Linked DNA regions of Homo sapiens: regions 2, 3, 4, 5, 6 and 7 are each linked to region 1. Evidence: promoter capture Hi-C in human tissues and cell types (Jung and others, 2019). All regions are on one chromosome and are shown on one strand. The core of a region is centred on a gene start or on the middle of the fragment in contact, and the rest is flanking DNA. Distances in the headings are between cores, read along the strand shown. Region 1 holds the start of METTL14 (methyltransferase 14, N6-adenosine-methyltransferase non-catalytic subunit). Region 2 overlaps MYOZ2 (myozenin 2). Region 3 overlaps SYNPO2 (synaptopodin 2). Region 4 overlaps PRSS12 (serine protease 12). Region 5 has its middle 16 kb from the start of PRSS12. Region 6 overlaps SYNPO2 (synaptopodin 2). Region 7 has its middle 57 kb from the start of PRSS12.

What was found. Contacts are between HindIII fragments. The study calls those that stand out against the background at their distance.
Region 2: a fragment that was not itself captured here is called in contact with the fragment with the promoter of METTL14 in region 1 in 2 of the 25 tissues and cell types used here (IMR-90 fibroblasts and thymus).
Region 3: a contact is called between a fragment that was not itself captured here and the fragment with the promoter of METTL14 in region 1, in 1 of the 25 tissues and cell types used here (mesenchymal stem cells).
Region 4: a contact is called between a fragment that was not itself captured here and the fragment with the promoter of METTL14 in region 1, in 1 of the 25 tissues and cell types used here (hippocampus).
Region 5: a fragment that was not itself captured here is called in contact with the fragment with the promoter of METTL14 in region 1 in 1 of the 25 tissues and cell types used here (thymus).
Region 6: a fragment that was not itself captured here is called in contact with the fragment with the promoter of METTL14 in region 1 in 3 of the 25 tissues and cell types used here (lymphoblastoid cells, mesenchymal stem cells and thymus).
Region 7: a contact is called between a fragment that was not itself captured here and the fragment with the promoter of METTL14 in region 1, in 2 of the 25 tissues and cell types used here (H1 embryonic stem cells and thymus).

Annotation. Positions count from the first base shown.
Region 1 is chr4:118,683,571-118,687,395 of GRCh38, forward strand. It overlaps METTL14 (methyltransferase 14, N6-adenosine-methyltransferase non-catalytic subunit), which reads left to right and starts at 1,822. Exons shown (of 11, transcript NM_020961.4): 1 at 1,822-2,030. The coding sequence starts at 1,965. It overlaps METTL14-DT (METTL14 divergent transcript), which reads right to left and starts at 1,771. Exons shown (of 7, transcript NR_125930.1): 1 at 1,735-1,771; 2 at 838-897. RefSeq lists enhancers at 1,781-2,040, 2,221-2,360. The HindIII fragment of the contact is 10,452 bases long and covers 1-2,489 here.
Region 2 is chr4:119,154,535-119,158,359 of GRCh38, forward strand. MYOZ2 (myozenin 2) reads left to right here. Exons shown (of 6, transcript NM_016599.5): 4 at 3,488-3,617. Among named protein-coding and RNA genes, the nearest start is that of MYOZ2, 21 kb to the left of the region's middle. The HindIII fragment of the contact is 7,792 bases long and covers 1-3,825 here.
Region 3 is chr4:119,046,030-119,049,854 of GRCh38, forward strand. All of the region lies in intron 4 of SYNPO2 (synaptopodin 2), which reads left to right. Among named protein-coding and RNA genes, the nearest start is that of SYNPO2-AS1, 63 kb to the left of the region's middle. The HindIII fragment of the contact is 3,412 bases long and covers 200-3,611 here.
Region 4 is chr4:118,341,988-118,345,812 of GRCh38, forward strand. The region is part of intron 1 of PRSS12 (serine protease 12); the gene reads right to left. Among named protein-coding and RNA genes, the nearest start is that of PRSS12, 9.1 kb to the right of the region's middle. The HindIII fragment of the contact is 4,288 bases long and covers 1-3,785 here.
Region 5 is chr4:118,367,320-118,371,144 of GRCh38, forward strand. No RefSeq gene overlaps it. Among named protein-coding and RNA genes, the nearest start is that of PRSS12, 16 kb to the left of the region's middle. The HindIII fragment of the contact is 8,108 bases long and covers 1-3,825 here.
Region 6 is chr4:118,979,598-118,983,422 of GRCh38, forward strand. The region is part of intron 1 of SYNPO2 (synaptopodin 2); the gene reads left to right. The region is part of intron 1 of SYNPO2-AS1 (SYNPO2 antisense RNA 1); the gene reads right to left. Among named protein-coding and RNA genes, the nearest start is that of SYNPO2-AS1, 3.2 kb to the right of the region's middle. The HindIII fragment of the contact is 4,306 bases long and covers 1-3,825 here.
Region 7 is chr4:118,408,158-118,411,982 of GRCh38, forward strand. No RefSeq gene overlaps it. Among named protein-coding and RNA genes, the nearest start is that of PRSS12, 57 kb to the left of the region's middle. The HindIII fragment of the contact is 3,133 bases long and covers 589-3,721 here.

The DNA.
Region 1 (3,825 bases), core at 572-3,071:
AGGGTGTCACTTTCTTAAGGTAAGGAAAGGAGGGGCTGCTCCAACTGGCTCTAGACTTTGTAAGGGACATAGTCATCGCTCTAGATGCCAGAAGCAGAGAGTAAAATAAATGGACAATAGCTTTCCCATGTTCCACCTTTTGATTTCCTGCCTGTGCCTCCTGTGGGCAGAGTCTTACAGGAAGCCATCTAACAAGGAAGGCTGGGAAATGTAGTTTGTGGACTCCCTGCCTAGCCATCATCTCGAAGCAGAGGGTAGGTGAGTATGGGGTTCAAAGATTACAAGCAAGTAACCTGCATAGCAACTTATCAGGAAAAAGAAAAATCCTCCATTAGACAGTAAACTCATAAAGAAAAACCGACTTTAGTTTTTAATCTTTGACAGACTTTATAGACTCTAGGGCCTATCACAGTGCTTGCCATATAAAATGCTCAATCAATATCAACAGATATTTAAGTGAATAATTGCCTATTCTCACCATTGGTAAAATTTAAATCAGTATTCAACTTAAATGATTGCCAGATAATACAACTGATTTTTAAAGAAATACACTTTAACTCATATGGACATAAATATTTTACAGTATCCAAGTAGTGCTGACATTACTCAAGGAATTGTTTAGGACTACTTGTTCAAAATTGTCTTTCAGACCTAGTTCTTCGGAAATACATTATAATTATTTCTATAAAAGTGGGCATGACTAAGTAGAATCTAGTCTTGCCCACTTTTGGCCCAGCCTGACTCAACTGGTTTTGATCTGGATGACTTAATATTATTTCTGAAAATTAAATCTACTCTGAAAGAACAGACTTATTACTAATTTTGTTAAGTACTTACCGCGATTTCCAATTAAACTTGAGGCAACATGATGTCTTACTCCACTTCCGCCACTGTAGGCTTGAAATAAGATGGCAAGTGTGGTGAATAATAATGGTAATAACTCAAATAAGACTTTGGCCTTTGCTGCCATCCTATGAAGACAGAATCACCACCCCCCAGCCCTCACCCCTCACCCCCGCAATCCGAGTAATTTCAGGAAGCTATTTGTTTCCTTATCCTTGGGTTATTTTCAGTTAAGACAAATGTACAAGCACAAAAAGGAGTCTCTTAGCTTCTGACTCCTAGGACATAAACCAAGACACGCTTTACTATCACATACTCATTTCCCTAAAGGGAAGAAGCCAAAAAATGCATACTATAGTAAAATGGGAAACATTTCAAGGGACAGTAAGGTGTGGGGAAGAGTGGGCAGATGTTGTGGCTGTTACCTGCGTGAAGGTAAATAAAATATTAACAATAACAAGCACTTCTACACCGCTATGTGCAAGGTGCTATTTATCCTTTCAATCACAGCTCTGTGAGGTAGACACTTATGACTCCCATTTTACAGATGACAAAACTGAGGCTCACGAAGGTGGTTAACTAGCCAAGGCCACTCGTCTAGGAAGTGAGAGGCCAAGGTTCAATCCTAGGCAATCTGGCTTAAGTTTGTGTTCTGTTAAAAAAAAAAAAATTAAAGGTTATCTGGCAATTTTTTAAACGTCAGGACTGTCATCTGTGGAATCAATTGAAAAGGGAATCAACACTTCAGAAACTGTAATACACCAAGGGAACCTGCTATCCTGGGAAAGAGAGATAAAGGAGAAGTCAGCTGACTGTCCTCCTTCAGACTAGCTCAGACCACCCCAACCTGCGAGGGCCCTGGAGACCCCTGTGGCGCAACAGATCCCTTACTGGGTCCCTTCCAAGTGGCGTCACATAGCAAGCGTCCAGAAGGAGGCGGGACTTCCGGGCCAAGCGAGCCAATTCCGGCCGCGCCGGAAGTCTCTACTGAGGAAAGCTATGAGGATACTCTGTTCGTAAGCTCCCGGTGAATTTTGTTCCACAGACTCGGAAGAAAGGTTGGATAAGAGTTCACTGGAGATTGACAAGTACTCGGGATAGTGAAAAGCCGGAGTTGGAACATGGATAGCCGCTTGCAGGAGATCCGGGAGCGGCAGAAGTTACGGCGACAGCTCCTCGCGCAGCAGGTCCGCGGCCCTGGTGTCCCCTGTGGGAGGGATCGAGAATGCGAGTGCGCGGCCGCCTCCTCCCTCCACACCCCGCCTTTTTCTGTCCCTTCTCTACCTGCCGCTGTTAAGGCCTTTCTGGTCCTGCGATCTTGATCCCTGGTTCTGCCTTTGTAGTTCTCAATTTTCGCGGTGTCCCGAATGTTTTTCCAGTTCCTTCCGCGGTCTTTGTGGTGCTAAACCGAATGCCAGGATTAGCCTTTAAGCTTTGTGGAACTCCCACCGAGTGTCTGGCATGTTCACGCCAGGATGAGTGTCATGTTATCCCCTACATTTCTCTTCACTATTAAATGGTCATCTATTTCTTTCTTTTCTTCGTCGTCAGCCCCAAATTCTTGAGATTGTGGTTTCATTATGAAATACGTTTACAGTATTTTCTTTGACATCTTTCTGAAGACAACACTGGAAGTAGCCTGAGTGTAAATTTTAGATTCTGCATCTTATATAGAGTATCCTTGTCACATCCACAGTTAATATTTGAAATCTTACTCTGTGTTAGTCACAATAATCTCCTGAAACAGGTATTATTACCTTCACTTATCAAGTAATGAAAAAGGCTCCATACGTTAAGGAATTTTACTCCTGGTCGCTCACTTCTCTGCTGGGAAATAGAACCTAGGTTTGTCTCCCCAAAGCTTGTCTTCTAAACCATTGTCCTTCACTTCTTTCTTGTGTATGAGTAAGTTAACATTTGCTGATTAGTAGAGTGCACATGCAGAAAATACAGATTGTGCACAGTTCTACTTAAAATCGAGGCTGTATTTTCCATTCTACTATTCAGATCAGTAAAAGTGATAGGAGCAATGCTCATAGAGTGTAATTAGTCATCTTGCAGTTATTTTTCAGTAATGAAACTTGGTTTTAGTAAATGGACTTCTGAAACCTATCCTCTTTATGGTCTGATGAACAGATTTGTGGAATATGGCTAAAACCGTGGAAACTTGGAGTCAGATTTGTTCCTTTGTTCCTTATCCCGCTGGCATTACGATCTTGGGCAAATCAAGTATCCTTTCTAAGTCTTCTTTTCGCCAACTTCTTTTATCGTATTATCTTCAAAAATGTTAAGTAGCTCTTTGTTGCTACCACAGAAGACGTTTTACTCCTTAATATTGAATTCAAACTTCTATTTGACTCAATATACATTCATAGGACAATTATTTGTTTAGTGTTTTACACTCAGCAGATGCCAGGGGCTCTACCTTTTAAAGTCTTTTATGAATTGGTTGCACTCTACTTAGCCAGCCTTATAACCATTATTTGTTTACATTTGTTTGTATTTTGCAAAATTTTCCAAACTGCCAAACAAAATTTATGTTACCATTTTAAGGTAGTAAAGTTCAGCCTTGTGTCTATAAATAGTAAGACTTAGCTTGAGTAAAACTGGATCGATTTTTATTAGAGCATAGAATAAATAAGTTATATAAGCTGATGCCTACAAAATGTTTAACATGGTACCCACAACCCTGTGCAAACACTGTCTTATCTGCCTTTTTTAGTTATTGCTATTGCAGGTTGAATATCTCTTATCTGAAATGCTTGGGCCAGAAGTGTTTTGGATTTCAGATTTTTTTCAGGATTTGGAATATTTGCATATTACTTACTGGTTGAGCATGCCAAATACCAAAACTCAAAATCGGAATGCTTCAGTGACCATTTCCTTTGAATGTCATGTCAGTACTCAAAAAGTTCCAGATTTTGGAGCGTTTTGGATTTTGGATTTTCAGATTTGGAATGCTCATTTTATATTAAATCGTGT
Region 2 (3,825 bases), core at 522-3,021, 470 kb after region 1:
TAATCCCCAGGAAGAGGTTACAGAAGGTATTACAATTCCTGGAAATTAATGTAGGTAGAATTATTTGTAAGTTTAGGTGAAATTCATTTAATGAACACATTCTAGGAACTTAGAAAACATTACTCTTTGTGCATTATACATTTAAACTTCCTAAATTTATCTCAAATGCCTTTTTATTTATAATTAAAGTTATCAGGAACTTTATACTTTTTAAAGAATTAGTATAGGTTTAGAAGTAAAAACATAAAGATACTAACCTAGTCAATTATTAAGTCCAACACTCAAGATAGGAGCTGAGTTCAAAATGCAAAAATGTTATATTACACACACACACACGCACACACACACACACACACAATGCCTTTCTTAGTCCATCCATGTTGTTATAAAGTAATAGCTGAGACCAGGTACTTTATAAAGAAAAGAGGTTTATTTGACTCATGGTTCTGTGAGCTGTACAAGAAGCATGGCATCAGCACCTGCTTCTGGTAAGGGCCCCTGGAAACTTCCACTCATGGCAGAAGGGAAAGGGGAGTTGGCATCACATGGTGAGAGAGGAAGGAAGGAAGAGAGAGGAGGGAGGAGGTGCCAAGTTCCTTTTAACAATCAATTCTCATAGGAACTAATTACTGCGAGGATGGCACCAAGTCATTCATGAGGAATCCACCTCCATGACCAAACGCCTCCCATTAGGCCCCAACTCCAACACTGGAAATGAAATTTCAGCATGAGATTTAGAGGGGACAAATATCCAAATCACATCAGTGGCCAACTAGACTTCAGCCAGATTATAAATAGGATGGGGACTCCAAATGACATAAATGCAATACCAAAACCCAGGTAACAGGAACAAATAAAGAAAGAGCACGAGAAGGTGGCATAGGTTTTATTGAAGTATTGGGATAATACAGAATATGGAGACATTTCCGGTAGATTAAGTTAGTTAGAAAGAAGACGGAAATTCTAAGATGGGTCTTAGAGGAAACCTAGGATTTGGTTTAGTAAAGAACAGAAAAGAGGGCATTCAAAGCAGGTGAAACAGCTTGTGGGGCTGAGGAGGGCAGAGGGTAGTAGTGGGGAACTGGCTTGTGGAAGTTTGCAAGGAATGAGAGGTAATGTTTATGAGGTGAGTATGACATCTACATTACCAAGCAAAAGAGTTTGCATTTTATTCACTAGGCAATTAGGAACAATTTCTAAAGATTGGAGTAATGCCATACCAGCATTTGTATTCGGTCTGACTGGAAGGAAAATGCTTGGTGGAAAATGAACAGAAGATAGATGATGACATGATAAAGTATGAGCAATGAGGATAACAGGAGCATGAAGACTAAAGTGAAAAAGGAAGATGGCATTTTAAAAAATGTCATAGTGAAAAAGAATCAGCTGGGTTTGGCTATTTATTCACTAAAAATTCAGCTAATATTCGCTGACTGCTTGTGCTATATAAGACACCATCTTAGGCTTTGTAAAAGACATATGGGCAAAATGAAATTCCCTGTTCTCAAGTAGCTAACAAGCTAGTAAATGAAACAGGACACAAAATATTATTTTAAAGGCGAATTATAGTAAATGATACGGGAGCGGCGAGAAGAAAGACAAAAAACTTTTTATTGGAAGGGGAGGAAGAATAAGGGAAGGGGTGTTTTTTAAATCACGACAGAGCCGACCATGGTAATGACGGAGAGGGGTCCTCTTGCTAGGGGAACTCCTATGATCAAAGATCAAAGGTAGAAAGGTGGAGAAACATACAAGATAATGGGGGAATCTTGATCTATGATCAAAGGTAGAAAAGCATACAAGATAATCGGGGAATTATAAGTGGTTTGGTTTTAAGCTTAGGGTACATCTTTAAAAACTGATGAGACTAGGTAGGCAGGTCTCAGTGCAAGGCTAAAACATTTAGGCTTATTCAGTATGCAATAAAGTGTGAACATGATGATGAGTTTGCAATTAGGCATGCGATGTTTAAAGTTGTAAAAATGTTTAAAGTCATAATATTTTTGCTATAAGTTTTAACCTCAGGCAGAGACAGCTCTAAGAGAATTCCTTCCCAAAATAGATCTTTTAAAATTCTAATAGAGATTAAGTATTTTTGTTTAAAAAGCTATTCGTTGAAAATATATATATGTTCCTGGGAAGTTAGTATATCATCAGACTATCAATATTTTATAAGTATAATTTATTCATGAAGATTTTATTTTATCATTGTCATTTTCTGCCCTGTCCAAATGTGGGCTTTGATGAAGCAGACGAAAGAACAAAGGCTCAAATTTGGACTACTGCTTTGAAAGTAGGCTTTTTTGGAATGCTGCAGAGATTAACATGAATGCAAAAGCCCTTGGGGAGGGGCTGTGTGGGTGAAGCATAAAAATGGAGATAAACTTTATTTCCTTCATAATTTTATTAAGTGAGGATCTTAATTTATGGCCTTTAGTTATGGTAAGTATTTAAATTTTAAAACAAAATTGTATTCTATCCTGAAATTGCTATAAAGTTAAATAAGTGTTAAAATGTAAAGGTATATTTCATCACAGAATCTTACAAACAAATATAGAAATTAAAAAATGAAAGATTTTCTGTATGTCACACACAAAAGAGTCAAAATCAGTGTCTAATTGCTATGCTTTTTACTAAATTTTTATTTTTGAAGTTAAAAGATGATTTGACCTAATCGCTTCTTTTTAAAATACACATATTTCCTATATGCAATTAAAACAATGATTTATTATGAGAATAAAACTTGGCTATACTTTTGAGGACATAACCTACTACGATGTCTATTTTTTTCTTAAAATGCAAACTGAACATTTTTAAGGTGCTATATTATTGCCATAGAATAAATCCTGTAATAGGAAAACAAATTTATCAAAATTTAAAAGACAAATGTATTTTTTCAGCATTTTATTTTCTAAAAATCAAAAATTTTTCCTTTTGCAAGTCTATGCAACTTAAAATATAAATGATTTTTGTGTTTTTTTGGAGTACATATGATTGCCGTTGAAATTTCAGGTTAGATTTTTAAACTTTCTAGACGTTAAAAAATCTAATTAAAGCCCAAATATAAATACAATGGAAGATAAGATTTACTAGGCCAAATGCTTAGCCAGTATGCTCTACATTATTAGATTAGTAAGGATTCAAAAATTAAATACATTTATCTCATAGGGATGGTCTGAACAGAAAATGAAATGATTGGTATGAACCACTACACACAGTGCCTGGCACACAGTAAGTCTCAATTTCAGCTCTAATCATTATTAAGTGGACTGTCATCATAAAATAGATCTTAGACTGATATCAGTAAATCTTCTCATTCAAGTGCGCAACCATCTTACTATGAAAAAAATTATTGAGGTCCCAGGAAGTAATGAAGCGACATTGCATTTAAATTATAAATATACAATTGAAGTTTTGCATATATAGCTCCTATTATTGTGCTTACATTTTTGAGTTTTCAGCAGAGTTTACTTTTGATTAAATACAGCACAGTATTGCTATGCAGAATGGGAAAGTGGATGGAAGTAACTTGGAAGGTGGTTCGCAGCAAGCCCCCTTGACTCCTCCCAACACCCCAGATCCACGAAGCCCTCCAAATCCAGACAACATTGCTCCAGGTAACCAATCCCCTTACCAACAGAGCAATAAAATTTCTGTGTACCTAATGATATGACTCAAGGCATTTAAAGCCTTTATTGAATAGTATTTAAATAATATATCTTTTCTCATTAAGTATGTTTTTGGGCCCCAGGCACGGTGGCTCCCAATCCCAGCACTTTGGGAGACTGAGGTGGGTGGATCACCTGAGCCCACAAGTTTGAGACC
Region 3 (3,825 bases), core at 656-3,155, 360 kb after region 1:
AAATTACCAATTTAGGGTAATATTAGGGTAAATTACCTAATTTACATGCCTCACTTTCCTTATTTGCAAAATGGAGGCCATAAGGTTGTTGAGAGGATTAATTGAGGTAACAAATACAGTGTTTAGAACTGTAGCTAGTACATAGTAAAAGTTTTGTACATTTTAGTTATTATTATCATTGCTTCAAAGATGAAAGAGACAACAAAAGTATATGCACACATTCCTCCTTCATGTTGGTCTTCTCGACCTTAAACTGTGTATCATTACTTTTATTCTTTTATAACAGAAGGTTTAAAAAAAATCAAGAAGTGTATATTTTGGCCCACTTAGACCTAGCAGGAAGATGAGGTCAGTGGCAATGTTTCTGGCCAACCCAGCTGCCTGCATTCTGATGACAGGAGGGCAGCCGGGGTTGGCACAGCAGCCTCGGAGGCGTGCACTGCTAATGCCACTTCAAAGGCAAGTCTCCCTCCTATTTTTGTCCTGGGTCAGCAGCCTGCCTATGCAGTTGCCTCTTGAACAAAAGGTCCTGCCAGGTCTCTGACACCTTTAGGGCCACACAGTCTCTTCCCACAATAACAAAAATAATCACCATTTGTTGAGCTACATGGCATTCCATTTATAAACACAATCTTTACTCTGCCCATAATCTTGAAACTGTAGCCAGCAATACTCCCATCTTACAATTAAGGAAAATAAGACTGGGAGAAGTTGAATTGCGTGGATAACAAAAGACAAAGGCAGAACTTTCAGGTCAATGTGACATCCAAGTTTCCATTCCTTCCAATATAAGATGCTGGCCTCCATTGTCATTTACAAGCCTTACGCTTTCTCACAAACAGATTTCCTAGAAGCAGAAAGTAAAACTTTTTGTTTAAAAGTCTGTTGTTTTGGAAGAGAAAATTTAATCTAAAAGTTAATCTAAGATGACTGGTGAGTAACAGAACCAAGATGATATGCTACATACAAGACCCTATCTCTTATTTTGATGTCAGAGTATGTCCATTGCATTCATGAAACTATTTATTTTGTTTATTTATTTTTTTTTTAGATGAAGTTTCACTCTTGTTGCCCAGGCTAGAGTGCAATGGCACAATCTCAGCTCACTGCAACCTCTGCCTCCCGGGTTCCAGCGATTCTCTTGCTTTAGCTTCCCAAGCAGCTGAGATTACAGGCATGAGCCACCATGCCCGACTAATTTTGTATTTTTAGCAGAGACAGGGTTTCACCATGTTGGCCAGGCTGATCATGAACTCCTTACCTCAGATGATCCACCCACTCGACTTCCCAAAGTGCTGGGATTACAGGCGTAAGCCACTGTGCCCAGCCCATGAAACTATTTAAACAACATGTGATTACTTGGCCACTTTTCTATTCAAAAATATGGTTTATTAGTCCTGATTATGTGCCCTTCTTGGCAGACAGAATGATACTGTGTACTTCTGCTGAAAGAAATAGAAACTCTCTTCCATTTTCTAGATAAGAGAGTCCTAAAACAGAATTTCCAAAAACTCCAGTTAGTGGAGGTAAACTTAAAATCCTCTTTAAGAAGGCAAGTGTTAGGGAATGAGGAAAAGACTATTTTATTGAGACTAGAACAAAATGACCTTCAAAGTGTTTTTATCCTCTAACTTCAAGCTTGATTGTATCTAAACCACCTCAAGGGAGCGTTTGTTTTATATTTAAAGACCTTTAGGTAAAGGGATTCTATATCTCTATGCAGAAATTTTTTCCAGTGTTGAACTGTTTCTACTGTCAAGAAAATTTTCACTGAGGGCTCATTAGAGCTGGGAGGGACTCTAGGAGATTAGTTAGTAGAGGCTGCCATTTCCTAACACGTACTTGCAGTCTCATGATAAACGGTAAATCAACTTTCAGCTTGCTCTTCTTCAACCCTAACTAATTCCAATCTCTTTTATCGTTTTCTTCTTAGGTCTGATTTATTTAATCTTGCAAATGTATTTCAGGTTCTCTTTAGGGTTTATGCATAATTTTCTAAGACTTTTCTCAATTGTGAAATCAAAGCCGTTTGAAACTCTTAAACTTCCACTGACCTGAATGCAAATCATTTATTTGAACCTTAAAAATCTTCCACCTGTTTAGAAAAATTGGTTTGTTCATAAATATTGACTAGTCCTGTCTGTCTTGTTGAACATGACTTGGGGTGCATATTGGTTTGCATATATTGAAGGTGGTGGGGATAGTTCTGTTTGTGTCCCTTGTCACATGTAACTGATGTGTGAGAGGGGCTACATCTTGTGAACTGACGTAAAATTCTGGTGAAGATAACCACATTTTCAGTTTATGACAGCCTGATGTAGAAATTATCATTCATTCAACAAATATTTACTAAGCACCTACTATTCTGGTGCCAAGTACTGTTCTAGGGAAGCCTTAAGGAAACAAAAACCTTTACCCTTAGATGGACCTTAATTTCTAGTGGAGAGAGAAAAATAAACAAATGATTAAGTAGAATATTTATTATGTTAGATGAGTGTAAGTCTAAGGGAAGGATTAAAGCAGGGGAGAAAGGTAAGGAATTTTGAGAGAGGGAGGGAATTGCCAAGCTGAGTGATCATGTAATATTTGAGTAAGTCCTGAAGAAAACAAGGTAGGAGTCATGCTGGTACCTGGGGTGAGCAAGTACAAAAATCCAGAGGATTGGAAAGTACAAAAATCCTGAGGCATGAGTGTACCTGGTGTGTTCAAGGTTCAAGGCCAGTGTGGCTGGAGGAAAGGGAGAGGAAGAGAACATGAAGAAGATGAAGTCAGATAATGCAAGGAGCTAGTTGGCAGATTTTGTGGGGTCTTGTAGGTCAATGAAAGGACTTTGGTTTTTCCTTTTTTGAAATGAAAAGCCATGGGAAGTTTTTAAACAGTAGACTGAATAACATAATCTGACTTGAGTTTTAACTGGGTAGTTTTGGCTAGCATATTAAGAATAAACTAAAGGAAGCAAGAATGAAACTAGGGAAATCAATTAGGAGACAGTAGCAATAATCCAGGTGAGAATTTGTGATAGCTTAGTCCAGGATGCTACCAGTGGAGGTTGAGAAGACTTGGTCAGATAGTGGATGTATTTTGAAGTCAGTGCTGACAGATCAGGTGTGGAGTGTGAGATGGAGAGCAGTCAACACTGATTCCCAAAATTTCAACTTGAGCAAATGGAAAAATGGAGAATATCTGTGGTTTCTTCTATTTGTGTATCCCTTCTAGGACCTCTGCTTTTCAGAAATTCTAATCCATGATTAAAAAGGCAAAAGAAATACTTTTTATTCCTCTTCACTTTTCTTGGACCTCCCAGAATCTGTGTATGATAAAGTATATGTTTGTGATGATCATTTACTGATCATGTGTTTAAGAGAGAAAAGAGTCAAAGGAATTGAAATCATATTTATCAGTTGACGCCCCTTTCCCTACAGTGCATGTGTAAGCAGGGTTTCAGCCAAGAGAATTGTATCACTTTCAAGGTTTATGGTATAAAATAGTTTAAACTTTGACTCACGACACATACATCAGATTTATCTTCTTTGGCTTCTAGGACAGTTTACATTGCTTTAAAATTCACTTCTTTGTGCTAAGTAAACCTCAGATTACACTTTCTTTTTGCATGTCAAGTGTTCCCTGCCAGTTAAATTGGTTACTAGACAGCTAGACAGTTTAACAAGGAAGCTAACTAAGCTGTTTTATTAACAAGCTGTGTGGATAAACCAACATTTAATTGACATGAGAAGATGGTTTATGTTAAGCTGAGAAAGGCCCTCAGCTCCTCTGAGCTTTTCTCCTGCATGCAGAGCCCCGGATATCTCATCTTCATGCAGCAGA
Region 4 (3,825 bases), core at 392-2,891, 340 kb before region 1:
GAAGCATAAAGTAGCCTGAAGTTTCTTTACACCGTGGAACAGGAGAGAAGTGGCTTTCTGGTGCTCCTATAGTTGACGCAAATCCTCCAGTAGAAGCTGATTTGTCCCACAGCTGTACAAAGTTGTAGGAGGACTATGAACGTGTGGGTGTACACATTTGCACAAATGTATAGGTACACAATTACACAATGGAGAAAGGAAAATAACCTTAGCTCAAAGAAATCCGCAAAGCCCAAAGCTAACCAAGTGAACTAATTTCTATTGCTGTACCTAACAATAAAGTGATTTGCATAAATTGTAGACGAAATTCTTTGTTTGGCAAATATTGTTCAATTGTCCAATTTTTTATTATCAAGAATTGATCCCTCACCTTCCGCCCACATTCTCCTAGAGCAACCAACCATTCTTCGATACTCTAGTCAGAGCTTGTGTCCCTGGACCACACCGGAGTGTGTGTGATCCAGCGTTGCACTGTCTTAAAGTCTCTCAAGTGCCACGTGCACAGAAAATATTCTATTCTACATATTTCTATCTTTAAAATGCGTTAAGAATAATAATTTAAAGTCTCAAGCAGAGGTTTTAGGTCAATTATATTAAGCATTATAAACATGCAGACCAAACTAGTAAAGGAAGAAAGTCTGGAATTGTACCACTATGCGTGATGGCATGTCATGCAGTGGAGGCCCCAGAGTTCCTGAAATGAACGGCTACCAAAAAAGAAAAAGGTCAACTGTCTGCTGGTGTTATAACTATTTAAAGGCAAAATGTTCCAATGTACAACAATGTTCAGAATTCTACTATCTTAATTCCTTGATAAAAATGTTTAACTGTTAAACATTTACAGTAAAATAGTTTACAACTGTTTTCCTTCTAAGTACATAGGCCTCCAGTTTTATAAAGGAAAGAAAACATAAAAGGTTCATGTAACAGAAATTTGCTTGATGGACAACTTCGCTAGAAAACAGGAATTCCCCAAATAGAGGGACAGGCATTCAAGAAGAGTTCTCTTTAACCATCTTATCAGTCTCAGTCAATACAGGTAAACTAGAGAACAGCAGACTGGATAAAAATTCCCTTCACAAGTCTCATTGGTTTCTGAGCTTTAAGATTTAAGACTAAGGCAAGGCACAGTGCCTCACACCTGTAATCCCAGCACTTTGGGAGGCCAAGGCAGGAGGACTGTTTGAGCCCTGGGGTTAGAGATCGGCCTAGACAACAGAGTGAGACACTGTCTTTACAAAAAAAAAAAAATTAAAAATTAGCCGGGCTTGGTGGCCCACGTGTGTAGTCCCAGCTACTCAGGCTACTAAGGCGGAAGGATTGCTTGTACCCAGGAGTTCAAGACTGCAGTGAGCTATAATTGTGCTACTGCATTCCAGTCTAGGTGACAGAGCAAGACCCTGTCTCAAAAAACAAAAAACAAAAACAAAAGCAAAACAACCTTCCTTTCCATATTCCATATGTGAAGGAAACCTAAAAGAAATAGGAGAAAAGGAACCAAATGAGTCAACTATCTTCATTCTATATACCCAGCTTATTCCAAAATAAAGCAAATGAAAAGATATCCCTGTTCAGCCTGGATAACATAGCAAGACCCCACCTCTACAAAAAATTTTAAAATTAGCTGGGCGTGGTGGCCCAGGCCTGTAATCCCAGCTACTTGGGAGGCTGAGGCAAATGATCGCTTGAGCCCAAGCATTCAAGGTTACGATGAGCTATGACTGTGCCACTATACTCCAGCCTGAGCAACAAAGAAAGACCCTGTGGGGGGAAAAAATGCATGCCTGCCTATTTAGTTAACCCCTCATTAAAATGTACTTATAAAATAGCATTCCTTAATTTAAAGAGAAAGAAAATGCAGTAAAAACAAAGACCCACCCCAATAGTGTTTTCTGAATAAAACTAGTAATAAATATTTTTAAAATCTTTTTTTAAAAAATCACAGTTTGATAAAAGAGTAAAAAAAAACTTCACGTTTTCACACAAATCCTTTCTTGTCTATTATTGAACTTTACAGATGCATAAAATAATTAGTTTTAGTCATTTCTATTGTTCTAGTGGAATAGAAAGAATGCATACTGGCAACATCCAGCTAGTGTTCAGATCCTTGACAAAAAGTACACTTAAAGCTGTGAGTGATACAGAAATTTCAATTTATGACCTATTCAAAAGAATAGAAAAAAACCATTACATGTTGAACAATTTAGTACACATATTTGACATTAAGTTAAATATAATACTATGTCTTATACCAAATGCAACACTATAAAAATATACTAAATGACCATTCTCTATCAATTATAAAATATATTTAAAAAATTACAGTACCTGAAAACAACTGAATTGGGGGACTCTTGGTTGAATTTTTCAAGTACAGTAGGGGATGCTAGGTTAATTTTTATGTTATTTTCTTTCTTCACTATATTCTACAGTACTAAGTTATACTATTTTCATCTATAATTATATTTACCTGTTAATTAAACCTGCTATATCTTTGCTAAATAGTATATTTTATTCAAGTCATCCCAGGTCAAAATGAATCAAATCATTTTTAACATACAAGGCATTCCCCTGAACCAAGATCCAACTGAGCTATATTTGCCTCCATTAGTTCACATCTATAATTCATACTAATTGTTCATTTATTATTCATGTATACAACAACTTAAATGCTGAGAAAAAAAATCAGTTGGTATAGTTCAAAATGAGAGTGCATCCCCTAAGTTAGCAATTCTACCCATTTACAGTGTGCTGATTAGAAATTTATAAATCTTATAAATTATTCCTTAGTTTAAAACATTATATGATATCAAACAAAAAAAGATGACTCTGTCCATGGTTAAGCTATAGTAGGCTAACAATACATGCATATAACCTCAACAGAAGCTTTCACAAATTGTGTGTCCCCAGACCATCTACACATAAACAAATGGTATGGGTATTACCATTTTATTGCATAGCAGTGAGTGATGAAATTGAAACCAAACAATAATCTTCTTGTCTCCCAGATCATGCACCACAGGGAAGGTAATGAAAATGCTTATTATTCTTCTGACACCTCACCCAGAAAATGGCTGTCCTCAACCAGAGGACAAAGGTGAATTTCTGATTCATCTTTATAAATGCTGCACCTAGTGTGAATGCAGTAAATGTTTAAGGAATAAATGAAACCTATCCTTACCCTGTTAGAAGAACCAGCATTACACTTTGTATCCCCTCTGCTGATCCTAATAAAAAGTACTGAGGCTAAATGTGCATGTGTGGCTTGTAGGGGGGTAAATATCATTGCTTTAGTGTTTTGCATACAATAATTTTTTTATTAATATTGTTGCACTGATTTGTAAGAAGGAGGAGGAGGGGAAGAGGAGACTGCCCTGGAAAAGGAAGATGCTAAAGGGGCAAAAATAAACACTTCTTTAGTTTCTAATGACAACAGACCAACCATGTAAACATCAGTCTAAATCAATTGTTCATATAATGCCTATTTACTATGCAGCTAAGGAGAGAGGCTTCAAAGGACTGCTTTCTTTAAAATTTAATTCAGGGGGAAAAAACCTTCAAAATTAGAATTAAATCATATAATCATGTTTACTTAATAAATGAACTAACTTCAGCATTCTCATCAATTATGGAATTATTCATTTCAGATATAAATGCGTCATAATATTTGCCTGCAAATAGCATCTTAAGACAAGGAAATATGCTTTGTCAACCAAACCAGAGTCTAAATGTTATTCATCCAGATATGACTAAAAAAAAATGAATGTAACATTTTACAGCACTTTATAAATTACTTACTGTTATTTTTTAATTGCATTAAGTTTC
Region 5 (3,825 bases), core at 359-2,858, 320 kb before region 1:
CAAGACTGCAGTGAGCTATTATTGTGCCACTGCACTCCAGCCTGGGTGACAGAATGAGACCATATCTCTTGAAAGAAAGAAAGAAAATAACAAAAATAGCTATTTGAAAACTACTGACCACTAACACACAATTTCAAAGAAATTTTGTATGTATTATGTTATATTATGTAACGTAGCAATTAAGGACTGGCCTTCAAGAGGAGTCAGAAAAAGTCTGTGTTCAAAATTTAACTCTGCTTCTTACTTAACTCGGATGACATCAGGCAAGTTGCTTAACTTCCTTTAGCTCAGTTTACTTGTCTATAAAATAAGGATAACTCTAATATTTCAGCAGTAACTTTTTTTAATTTTAATTTTTTTGTACAGACAACATCTCCCTGTGTAGCCCAGACTGGTCTCAAACTCCTGGTCTCAAATGATCCTCCCACCTTGGCCTCTCGACGCACTGGGATTACAGGTGTGAGCAACTGTACCCAGCTGGTAATCATTATTTGATGAATAAATAATGAAATAACAGCATGGTACCTGGCATATAATACACTTTAGATAAATGTCTGTTAATAATGTTAATAAAATTATTATTGTTCAAGTATAAGTACAAAATAAGAACTCTAAAGCTCAAGTAAAGGGAAGTGAAAAGAACTTTGGCTTTTTCTCCCTATTGCTTGCAATTCAATTTGGCCACATACTGGGCCACTAGACTGTCTTCTGAGAAAAGAGGTAGGAGAGGGAAATGTTAGACGTGGTTTAATGAAGTCACATGTTCAATGACAATTGAGACTCAGCCTGCCCAGGAGCTGGGTAAACATTAGGCTCTCTGGCCTCAAGTAGTTGGTGCTTAAGAGCAGGCATAACAATCTTCTGCCAAGGGAAAATATTGATCAATAAACATAAACGTTACCTGAAAGAGTTCTTAACATTTCAGTGATTATTCTGTTAAGAAAGAAAAAACAAAGATTGTTTGTTTCAGAAATTTTTAAGGTGCCCAGCCTAGGCTTCTGTATGAATTCCTGAATAATAACAGGCCAAAAGAATTCAAGGCTGGGTGCGATGGCTCATACCTGTAATCCCAACACCTTGGGAAGACAGGGTGGGAGGATGGCTCGAGGCCAGCTGTTGGAGACCATCCTGGGCAACATAGTGAGACCTCTCATCTACAAAAAATTTTTAAAAATTAGCCAGGTGTGGTGGTGCACCTCTGCAGTCCTAGCTAGTTGGGAGGCTGAGGTAGGAGGATTACTTGAGTCCAGGAAGCCAAGGCTGCAGTGAGCTATCATCACGCCACTGTACTCCAGCCTGGACAACAGAATGAAACCCTGTCTCCTAAAAAAATAAAATTAAAATAAAAAAAAAGAATTCAAGAAAATTCCTCTTCCTTAATCACAGATAGATAATGCTTCTAGGGCTTCCATGCAGGCTATAGTTAGCTGCAAATGATTTTATTCTTCCTTCTTTCCCCAGGCCTCCAACAACACAAGCTCTCTTTGAAATATAACCTTGATCTTTAGCAGGTTTCTAACCATTAACTTTCTGTCAGAAGAAGGGAATATTACAATAAAGGTGATCATTCAAAAGATGGATTTACTTATTTTTTCTTAACATTAAATTCTTCTTTATATTTATTGTTATATTTAAATAAGGAGATACTATGTTGCCTAGTGGATAGCACATAGATTGGCAATCAATGCACATTATGTCAAATTCTACTTGGCTATTTTATACCTCAGACTTGCTGTTTTTGATTGAGTTGCATCTGTAGATGACAATGTCACCTCATAGTAATGTTTTGCAGAGATGCTGTAAAAAGAAATGCTGTTTGTTACTTCATATGCACTCAACAGACGGTATGTTTTTTGTTCCCCTTTTTTTTTTTTTTTGTATAAGAGGCAGGAGAATAGCTTGAACCAGAGAGGCAGAGGCTGCAGTAAGCCGAGTTTGTGTCACTGCACTCCAGCCTGGGCAACGGAGCGAGATTTCGTCTCAAAAAAAAAAAGAAAAAAGGAAAAAAAGATCAATGTTCATTCAATATTATTAGAGGATTAAATGTTTGTTCCTTTCCAAAGCATGTGTCAAGAAGCAGTTTTGCAATCCAGACTGAAATGGAACTAGTCAGGAAAACTTGTTATAAACCCTTGAGAACACGCTAACCTTTAGAAAAAAACTCACCCAGTGTTTATTTGGGACCCTGAAGTCCAGTAAATAATGTGTATTTAATTAAAATCTCAGCTTCTTTGGGAAGGAAGTGAACTTTCTTTGTCGTTCAAATTGGTAGGCAAAGGAATTTAGACCAAATTAAAGTGTTGTTGAGCCTTCAAAATACAAAACAAACGAAATAATATTTCTAAGGACTAAATTATATGCTGATTTTTTTGTCTTCCCACACTGACATTTTAACTCTTTTACTGTATTAAAAATATAAAGTGGCCAGGCGCAGTGGCTCACGCCTGTAATCTCAGCACTTTGGGAAGCCAAGGCACGCGGATTGCTTGAGCTCAAGAGTTCGAGACCAGCCTGGGCAACATGGTGAAATCCCGTCTCTACTAAAATACAAAAACTTAGCTGGGTGTGGTGGCGTGCGCCTGTAGTCCCAGCTACTCAGGAGGCTGAGGCAGAAGAATTGCTTGAATCCAAGAGACGGAGGTTGCAGTGAGCTGAGATCACGCCACTGCACTCCAGCCTGGGTGACAGAGCGCAACACTGTCTCCAAAAAAAAAAAAGAAAAGAAAAAATATAAAGCATTTAGGCCATTGAACTTTACCTGTGATGCAGTTTCATAAATATTTCTTGAAGGAATAAGTAAATGAATCAATGATTGTCTTTACTCTGTTCTCCACCTATCTAAATCTTATTAACCAAGGTCCATTTTTTCCCCTATAAATGTCCTTCCAGAGGATTCCAGCCCAAAATGTAGATTAAAACAAGTGCCCTCATTTTCAAAAGTACTAGACTACCTTTTAGAATTCACTACCTCTCTGCCCTAAGTTTCAATTGCTAGTCAACTCTGACCCAAATGATCACCTCTGAGTTTAGGTTAGACCCAATCAATTACGTTCTCATAATCAATTATCAGAGACTATTCAATGAGTATGTAATCTCAAAGCATTAGTCCCAAAATTGAACTTGGGACTCTTAAGGGTGCCACCATGCTATTCCAGACAGCCAATTTTAGGAGGAAGAACAGTGTAATCCCTGACTTTTCATGCCAGTCTGCTCAAGACACTGAGGAACCCCATCCAGGCCCATTCCAGTCCTGGCTGTCAACAGACAACAAACCAAAGTAAGCCCTATGTAAAACAGATATTTTTAAAGTGGCCAGGAGCGGTGGCTCACGCCTGTAATCCCGGCACTTTGGGAGGCTGAGGCGGGTGGATCACCTGATGTCTGGAGTTCGAGACCAGCCTGACCAACATAGTGAAATCCTGTCTCTACTAAAAATACAAAATTAGCTGGGCATGGTGGCACATGCCTGTATTCTCAGCTACTTGGGAGGCTGAGGCAGGAAAATCGTTTGAACCTGGGAGGCAGAGGTTGCAGTGAGCTGAGATGGTGCCATTGCACTCCAGCCTGGGCAACAAGAGCGAAACTCCGTCTGAAAAAAAAAAAAAAAAAGAAATCTGTACTTCTTGCTTTTCCATAGTCTTCACTTTGGTTACTCTTGCCCTCTCTAAGAGTGTGCTTCCGGAATCAGATCCCAGGGCCTACTTTGCTAGGTGTGGTGCTTTCTAGAGACTCCTACTTAGAAGGCAGCCTTAGGAGTACAATCGTTGAGTTACAATCTTTCCTCTTCCTGTAATTCCCTCAGTGCAAACACTTTGTTGTGGACCA
Region 6 (3,825 bases), core at 448-2,947, 300 kb after region 1:
TGTCTTGCCAATGATATGTGCTCAGTAAATATTTGTTCACTGGTTGGATATCCTTTCATTATCTATACTATATTTTCAGCACAATGACAGGGTAGCAACAGAGGCATCTATTGCAGGAGGCCATACAAATTGTACCTCAGAAATTCATATAACCAGGAATTATAGTCTGAGCAATTACTTTAATAAGTTAGAATCTCTCTGTAATTATAGGTTACAGATGGTGACATAAAAACACTAGGAGGTCAGGAAGTTTCTTCCGCACTCAGCATACTTGAACTAAAAAGAGTGGACATTTCATAATTCTGAGCACCTTGGTCTATTGCTTGGTCTGTGCCTCGTGTTATTCTCAAGAAAGGAGACTGGATCTCAACCATCACTCATCCACACTTGTGTTATCTTTAAGCACTGTAGAGGAAAAAACTCTTTTGGAGTTTGAAGAATAAAGTTGGATACATTGCATAGTATATGCGGTTTTTAAGCTAACTTAAAGGGAAAGCTTCCTGAATGAAAATAAATCATATTAGTTTAATGATGGCTGCTATTAATAATGACATATATACCCATATATAGTATAGTGTAGTAAAAACTTTTCATCTGTTTTCTGGAAATCTTGATTTTCAACTCTTTCTAATGTATTTTTCTTTTGGGGGCCCACTCAGACCTTACAATATGTCTTCTAGAGGCACAGAGTGAAAAGCCTTGTTAGTCTGCTGATGTGCCTTCAGACCTTCTCCGGACTATTCCTTGACCAGAACCATCCCTTTTCTAGCTGGCTTTTCTGGTAGAGTCTATCCACACTCCTAGAACTGTCTACTGTTTGCTTGGCAAGGTCTACCTAGATCCTTCCTTGGCCTGCATCCTCCTGGGAGCTGTGGGGTCACCATGAGCCTTGTTACTTCTTTCTTTTCCCCCCTTCCCCAGCACACACCCACACATGCCATCATTCCACCGACTGGACTAATTTTATCAGAAACTAGACTTGTAAATTAACAGAGACATATATGATTTCACTTACAATTTGAAAAAAAAAGAACTTGATTAATAAGTGTCAGCATCACCATTCAGAGTATCTATAACTATCACAGCATAAAGTAGCTGGAAAAGAAGCACATATATAGAATCCAGTGGTTTTCAGATTCCAATTTATAAAATGGATAAAAGTGAACCTGGTTTAGTTAAAGAAGGGAGGGAAAGAGGACGCTGCCTCTTAGGCCTCATCCTGGTGGTGGCATGTGTGGCATGCCATCTGCACATAAGCCTATGAACCCCTAATCTGAGTTACATGAAACACTTTGCCTATGTGGAAACTGAGTCTGGAATGGTTAAGCGACTTGCTCACAGTCACATACCCAGTTTGTGGCAGAGCTGATTCTCAATCTCAAGTTACTAAGCACAGTTTCCTTTTTCTGGGCTTTTCCCACAGCACCAAATAACTGCTAGATAAAGCACTCTTTCCTGCTCATTGCGCTGGTCCAGTTTATCTCTGTGCCCAAGAGCAGTTTAGAAGAACTAGCATTTTCCATGCAAAAATCTTTGTTGAAGGAGATTCATGATTAACTGAAATCACCCAAAGTACCACAAACAATGCAACAAACCATGAAGGACAGCACAGCGTGTGTTTTTATCTGACCCATTTGTTCCAGGATGGGCTCTCTAGTTGAACAGCCTAACAGCCCTGCAACCAACCTGTCTCATAAGCCCTGCACAGAACAACCCAGCAGAATTCCTAAGCCTGCTCACATAAACAACCAGAGAAGTTAATCATAGGCATGAGAGACTTTTGGTGGTGGCCAATTAGAGCAGACCCCCCACAGAGCTTCATCATAGGGTAGCCACGTCAATGTCAATACCCTCCTCCGTGCAACAATCCTTGTGATTAATGTAATTACCATAATTACTGACCTCTCTTCTGAGAGTCTTGGCCACATGGAAGAGTTGAATGTTTTCCCTGAATGCGTTGTCTCCATACAATGTATGCCCTTAATTATAGAACATGATGTCATAAGTTCTGATTAGGGGGTTGCCCTAGAGGAGCTGAGGATTGGCCCCAAAGGCATAAGGGGGCCAGTTCAACTCATAGCCCACCCTAGTCCTCCCGGTCACATGCAGGTAGCCAGTTACTTGGTAATTAACAAAACAAGCTTGTGGTTGTTGCTGTCGTCCATTTTACTCCTATGTCTTTTGGGGCCTTCTTGGGAAATAAAGGCTTCCTTTTTCCTCATGTACCTCATAATTATTGTGCCCCAGAACTGCACATAATTATTATTATTTTTCCATTCAGGAGTTAATGCTTCAGCCAAACAGGTCTGGACGGAAACCCAGTTTGCGTTCAGAGGAAAATAGTTGACTATTCTCAGACTAGACCACTTGAGGGCGGCATTGCCTTAGGAGAGTGTGTTTTGACCAACTAATACATAACCTAAGGAGGAAATATGCAGCGTGGGTGTCACAGGCACATCACTGTAGTTCAGGGAATAAAACCACAAAAAATGAGAACATACTTCCAGGGAGTCAACTCACATTTAGGAATGAAGGAATAAATGTCTAATTTTAAATGTGGTTGCAAAGTTTTTTTTTTACATAACAGAATTGCTTGAGGCAGGCGCGCTGTAAACCATTTATATGGGGAGGGATTTATTCTGTGAAATGAAGTGCTATTGAAAAAAAAGATAATGTCCAGTGCAGTGTAGGAACAAAAAAGGCAAACTAAAATATATTGCACAATGAAGACTGGGGACAAAATCATGAGTATGTTTGCAGGTCTTCATAACCCTCTCGGATGCACATAGTTCTTCACCATGGACATGTCCCCATTATAACCTCTTTTAATTTGGCAGGGAGCTGCTCCTTTGCCTTTCCTTCATATTTTGGGGGTCAATCCAGATGAATGAGAGAAAATAAAAGAGGGGGAAGAGAAGAGAAGGAGGATGGTATGCCCCTCTGTACTTGGAGAATCACTAGCGGTGGTCTCAGTCACAGGGAGACAGACTGGTTCCGCTCATCTCTGATCCTGCCCCAGTAAATTACTTGCAGATATCTTTTTGGTAGTTTTCACAGGATGCTAATAAACTGATCAGCCTAGTATGCTAGAGATATTTAAGTTCTCTTTCCAAATATCACTGCATACATACCTAAATAACAGACCAATCATTGATTTCCAGAAACCTGTCTGGAAGGCATTCTACATTCTTTCCTTTGCTTCTTTTTATGGGCCACAGAAAGAACACGATAGTTCTTGAATACATTTCCCAGATTGTCCAAAGAGGTCAAACTCTTAATGTTAAGCACAGTTCTTTTGAGACTGTGGTTGTGGGGGAGAAATTAAAGAAAGATCTGGAAGCTAATGGAAGCTACTCAGATGAGTAGCTTCTTTAGTGCAACCTCAGCTGGAACGTCAGTGACTCTTGAAAATTCTTTCTTCCCTCCCAAGTCAATATCCTATCAAATTGCTTTCTGTATTTTTTTGCAAATCTCCAAACAGAAACTCATGGAACACAGAGGTAATCTTGGCTACTTTGCAGAGATGGCCAAGGAGATTAGGTGTGAACTTCTCCGGTTTTCTTCCCTTCATTGTTAACTTTGCCTTTATTCATCCCTTTCAGTCTTTTCCAGGATCTTGTTCCATCAAACATCTCCCTACCTCCACCCTTTTCTTTTCAACCTTTTCCTCTGTACTTAATGGGGAAAGTTCTTTACCTCATTTCTCTTTCCAGCATCTATTCTCTCTGCCTCCATTCACACTAGATTCCTTGAAACAGGTCTACACCAGACACCCCCATGCTCTGGCCTTCCTTTACTATTTCCCTTGCATTATTTTCTCCGGAA
Region 7 (3,825 bases), core at 905-3,404, 280 kb before region 1:
GCTCAATGAAATAAAAGAGGATACAAACAAATGGAAGAATATTCCATGCTCGTGGGTAGGAAGAATCAATATCGTGAAAATGGCCATACTGCCCAAGGTAATTTATAGATTCAATGCCATCCCCACCAAGCTACCAATGACTTTCTTCACAGAATTGGAAAAAACTACTTTAAAGTTCACATGGAACCAAAAAAGAGCCCGCATCACCAAGTCAATCCTAAGCCAAAAGAACAAAGCTGGAGGCATCACACTATCTGACTTCAAACTATACTACAAGGCTACAGTAACCAAAACAGCATGGTACTGGTACCAAAACAGAGATATAGACCAATGGAACAGAACAGAGCCCTCAGAAATAATGCCACATATCTACAACTATCTGATCTTTGACAAACCTGACAAAAACAAGCAATGGGGAAAGGATTCCCTATTTAATAAATGGTGCTGGGAAAATTGGCTAGCCATATGTAGAAAGCTGAAACTGGATCCCTTCCTTACACCTTATACAAAAATTAATTCAAGATGGATTAAAGACTTACATGTTAGACCTAAAACCATAAAAACCCTAGAAGAAAACCTAGGCAATACCATTCAGGACACAGGCATGGGCAAGCACTTCATGTCTAAAACACCAAAAGCAATGGCAACAAAAGCCAAAATTGACAAATGGGATCTAATTAAACTCAAGAGTTTCTGCACAGCAAAAGAAACCACCATCAGAATGAACAGGCAACCTATAGAATGGGAGAAAATTTTTGCAACCTACTCATCTGACAAAGGGCTAATATCCAGAATCTACAATGAACTCAAACCAATTTACAAGAAAAAAACAAACAACCCCATCAAAAAGTGGGCAAAGGACATGAACAGACACTTCTCAAAAGAAGACATTTATGCAGCCAAAAAAGACATGAAAGAATGCTCATCATCACTGGCCATCAGAGAAATGCAAATCAAAACCACAGTGAGATACCATCTCACACCAGTTAGAATGGCAATCATTAAAAAGTCAGGAAACAACAGGTGCTGGAGAGGATGTGGAGAAATAGGAACACTTTTACACTGTTGGTAGGACTGTAAACTAGTTCAACCATTGTGGAAGTCGGTGTGGCGATTTCTCAGGGATCTAGAACTAGAAATACCATTTGACCCAGCTATCCCATTACTGGGTATATACCCAAAGGATTACAAATCATGCTGCTATAAAGACACATGCACACATGAGTTTATCGCGGCACTATTCACAATAGCAAAGTCTTGGAACCAACCCAAGTGTCCAACAATGATAGACTGGATTAAGAAAATGTTGCACATATACACCATGGAATACTATGCAGCCATAAAAAATGATGAGTTCATGTCCTTTGTCGGGACATGGATGAAGCTGGAAACTATCATTCTCAGCACACTATGGCAAGGAGAAAAAACCAAACACCACATGTTCTCACTCATGGGTGGGAATTGAACAATGAGAACACATGGACACAGGAAGGGGAACATCACACACTGGGGACTGTCGTGGGGTGGGGGGAGGGGGGAGGGATAGCATTAGGAGATATACCTAATGCTAAATGACGAGTTAATGGGTGCAGCACGCCAACATGGCACATGTATACATATGTAATAAACCTGCACGTTGTGCGCATGTACCCTAAAACTTAAAGTATAATAATAATAAAATTTTAAAAATAGCTATGCAGTGATTTGTGGTATATTGCTTGCATAACAATGAATAATAGGGAACATTTTACTGATAAATAAAAGGTTTTGTCAGTGAGTACATGCAATGAAATAATACCAGAAGAAAAAAACCTGATACTTTTTAAACTACTGCCTGACAGATTACATGAAACTAAATAAAAAACAAGCTTTTGTCAGGTTATTTGTGTTTTCCAGATTTACAGAGCCATTCTCTTTGAATATTAAATAACCATGGTTTTAAATTTCTACTCCTCTCCTAGACTGATTGCTGGAGGCAAATTAATTTCAGATTAATTTCCAACACTTCTGAGGGAGGAAAATACCTAAAGCAAGAATTTGTATTAATCACGTATCCATCTGTCTTCTACATAAGGCCATTCAAATCCTCCCAGAATCTGTTTTAAAACCAGTGCTTCCTTTTGTTGAGAACATTACTTAAATATTCCTCCCCAAATTAGGACACACATGCATTATCTGTGAGTCATACCGCTCTCAAATACACAGATTTCAGATTCCATCGTCATTATGAGTCCATACAATGCCCCTGTTTTATTTCATTATTCTTTCCCCTTTGTCCTATTCATTCTCATATACATCATCTTTCCCATCAGAGATATACACATTAATATATCCAATATGTTTCCTTAGGCATCTGAAAATACAGCCCTGAGATACAACATATGGTTGTTTTCTGTGTATATGTGTATTTTGAATATATAAAAATTGTTTTGTTCTATAGAATTAATTCCATATTTCCAAGATCCATCTACATTCCTACATATAAAAATGGTTAACTACTTCTTCCTGTATTTTATCCCATTGTGTGTACATGCTATGTATTCTGAGTAGCCATTTCCCTAGGGATGGACATGAAGCTGCCTCTAACTTCTTGCTAACACTAATAATGATAGGATACCACACTCCAAAATATCCCCTTAAGGATTTGTACACAATATAAACCCAGGTGAGGGAATGATAAGTATACAAATTATATGAATAATTAATTTCACTAGGTATTGTGAGTTACACTCCCATCAATAGTGCATGAGTTTTCTGATTTCTTGACATCCTAGCCAGCACTTAGTATTAGCTGACTTTGTAATTTTTAGCGATTCTTTGTTGACTTAATTTGAATTTCTCTGATTACAAGTGAAGTTGAACATCTCTTCATATACATTTTGGCTATTTAGAATTCCCTTCCCATGAATTGTCTATTTTAGTCCTTGTTCAATTTTTGAGTTTCCTTGTAGATTTTAGTAGTTCCTTATATGGTCTAAATGTTAATCACTTTTTAGTGTTACACTTTAAAAATATCTCCTGCTAATGTGTCTGCAACCAGCCTGTTAAGTTTGTCTATCATATCTTCTTTGTATAGAAATATTCAGTTTTAACATGATCACATCCATCAATTTCCACCACACACCCTTAAGGTTTGTACTTTTTGGGTCTTGTTTAAAAATCCTTTCCCATCCCAAGTTCACAAAGAAAGCTTCATGTATTTCACTCACTTCATAGTGTTGCCTTTCATAGTTAGGTTTATTTTTTTCCTATGTGTTGAGCCACATACTAAATAATGTGTCTTTCCTCTATGAGTTATGATGCTAATTTCTACTATATTCCTCATTCTCATATATAACATAGGCTTGTTTACTGGTTTCCTATTCTGTTATATCATTTTTTTTGTCCATTCCTATACTGGTATCATACTATTTTTATTGCTATGGTTTTATATGTCTTAATATATTCAACTAGACAAGTTCCCTCTCTTTGCTCTTCTTTTTAAAAAATTCATCTTATTTATTTGTGGTCTATTATTATTCTATGCACATTTTATAAGCTAATTAATTGCCTAGTTCTTCACAAAATCCTCATGAAATTTTCATTAAAATTGCATTGAATTTATAGATTTAGGGAGAATGATATTTTTACAGTATTCATTTGTCCCACTCATGAATGTGGTACTTTTTCCTTTTTACCTAGATCTTGTTTTATGTCCTTTAATAGAGCTTGAAAAACTCTGTTTTAAAGGATGGGTTCATTCATTAGTTTATATCCTATATACTTTGTAGTTTTTATTGCTGTTGTGAATGAAATTGCATTTTATACTAATTTCCAGTTGGTCAC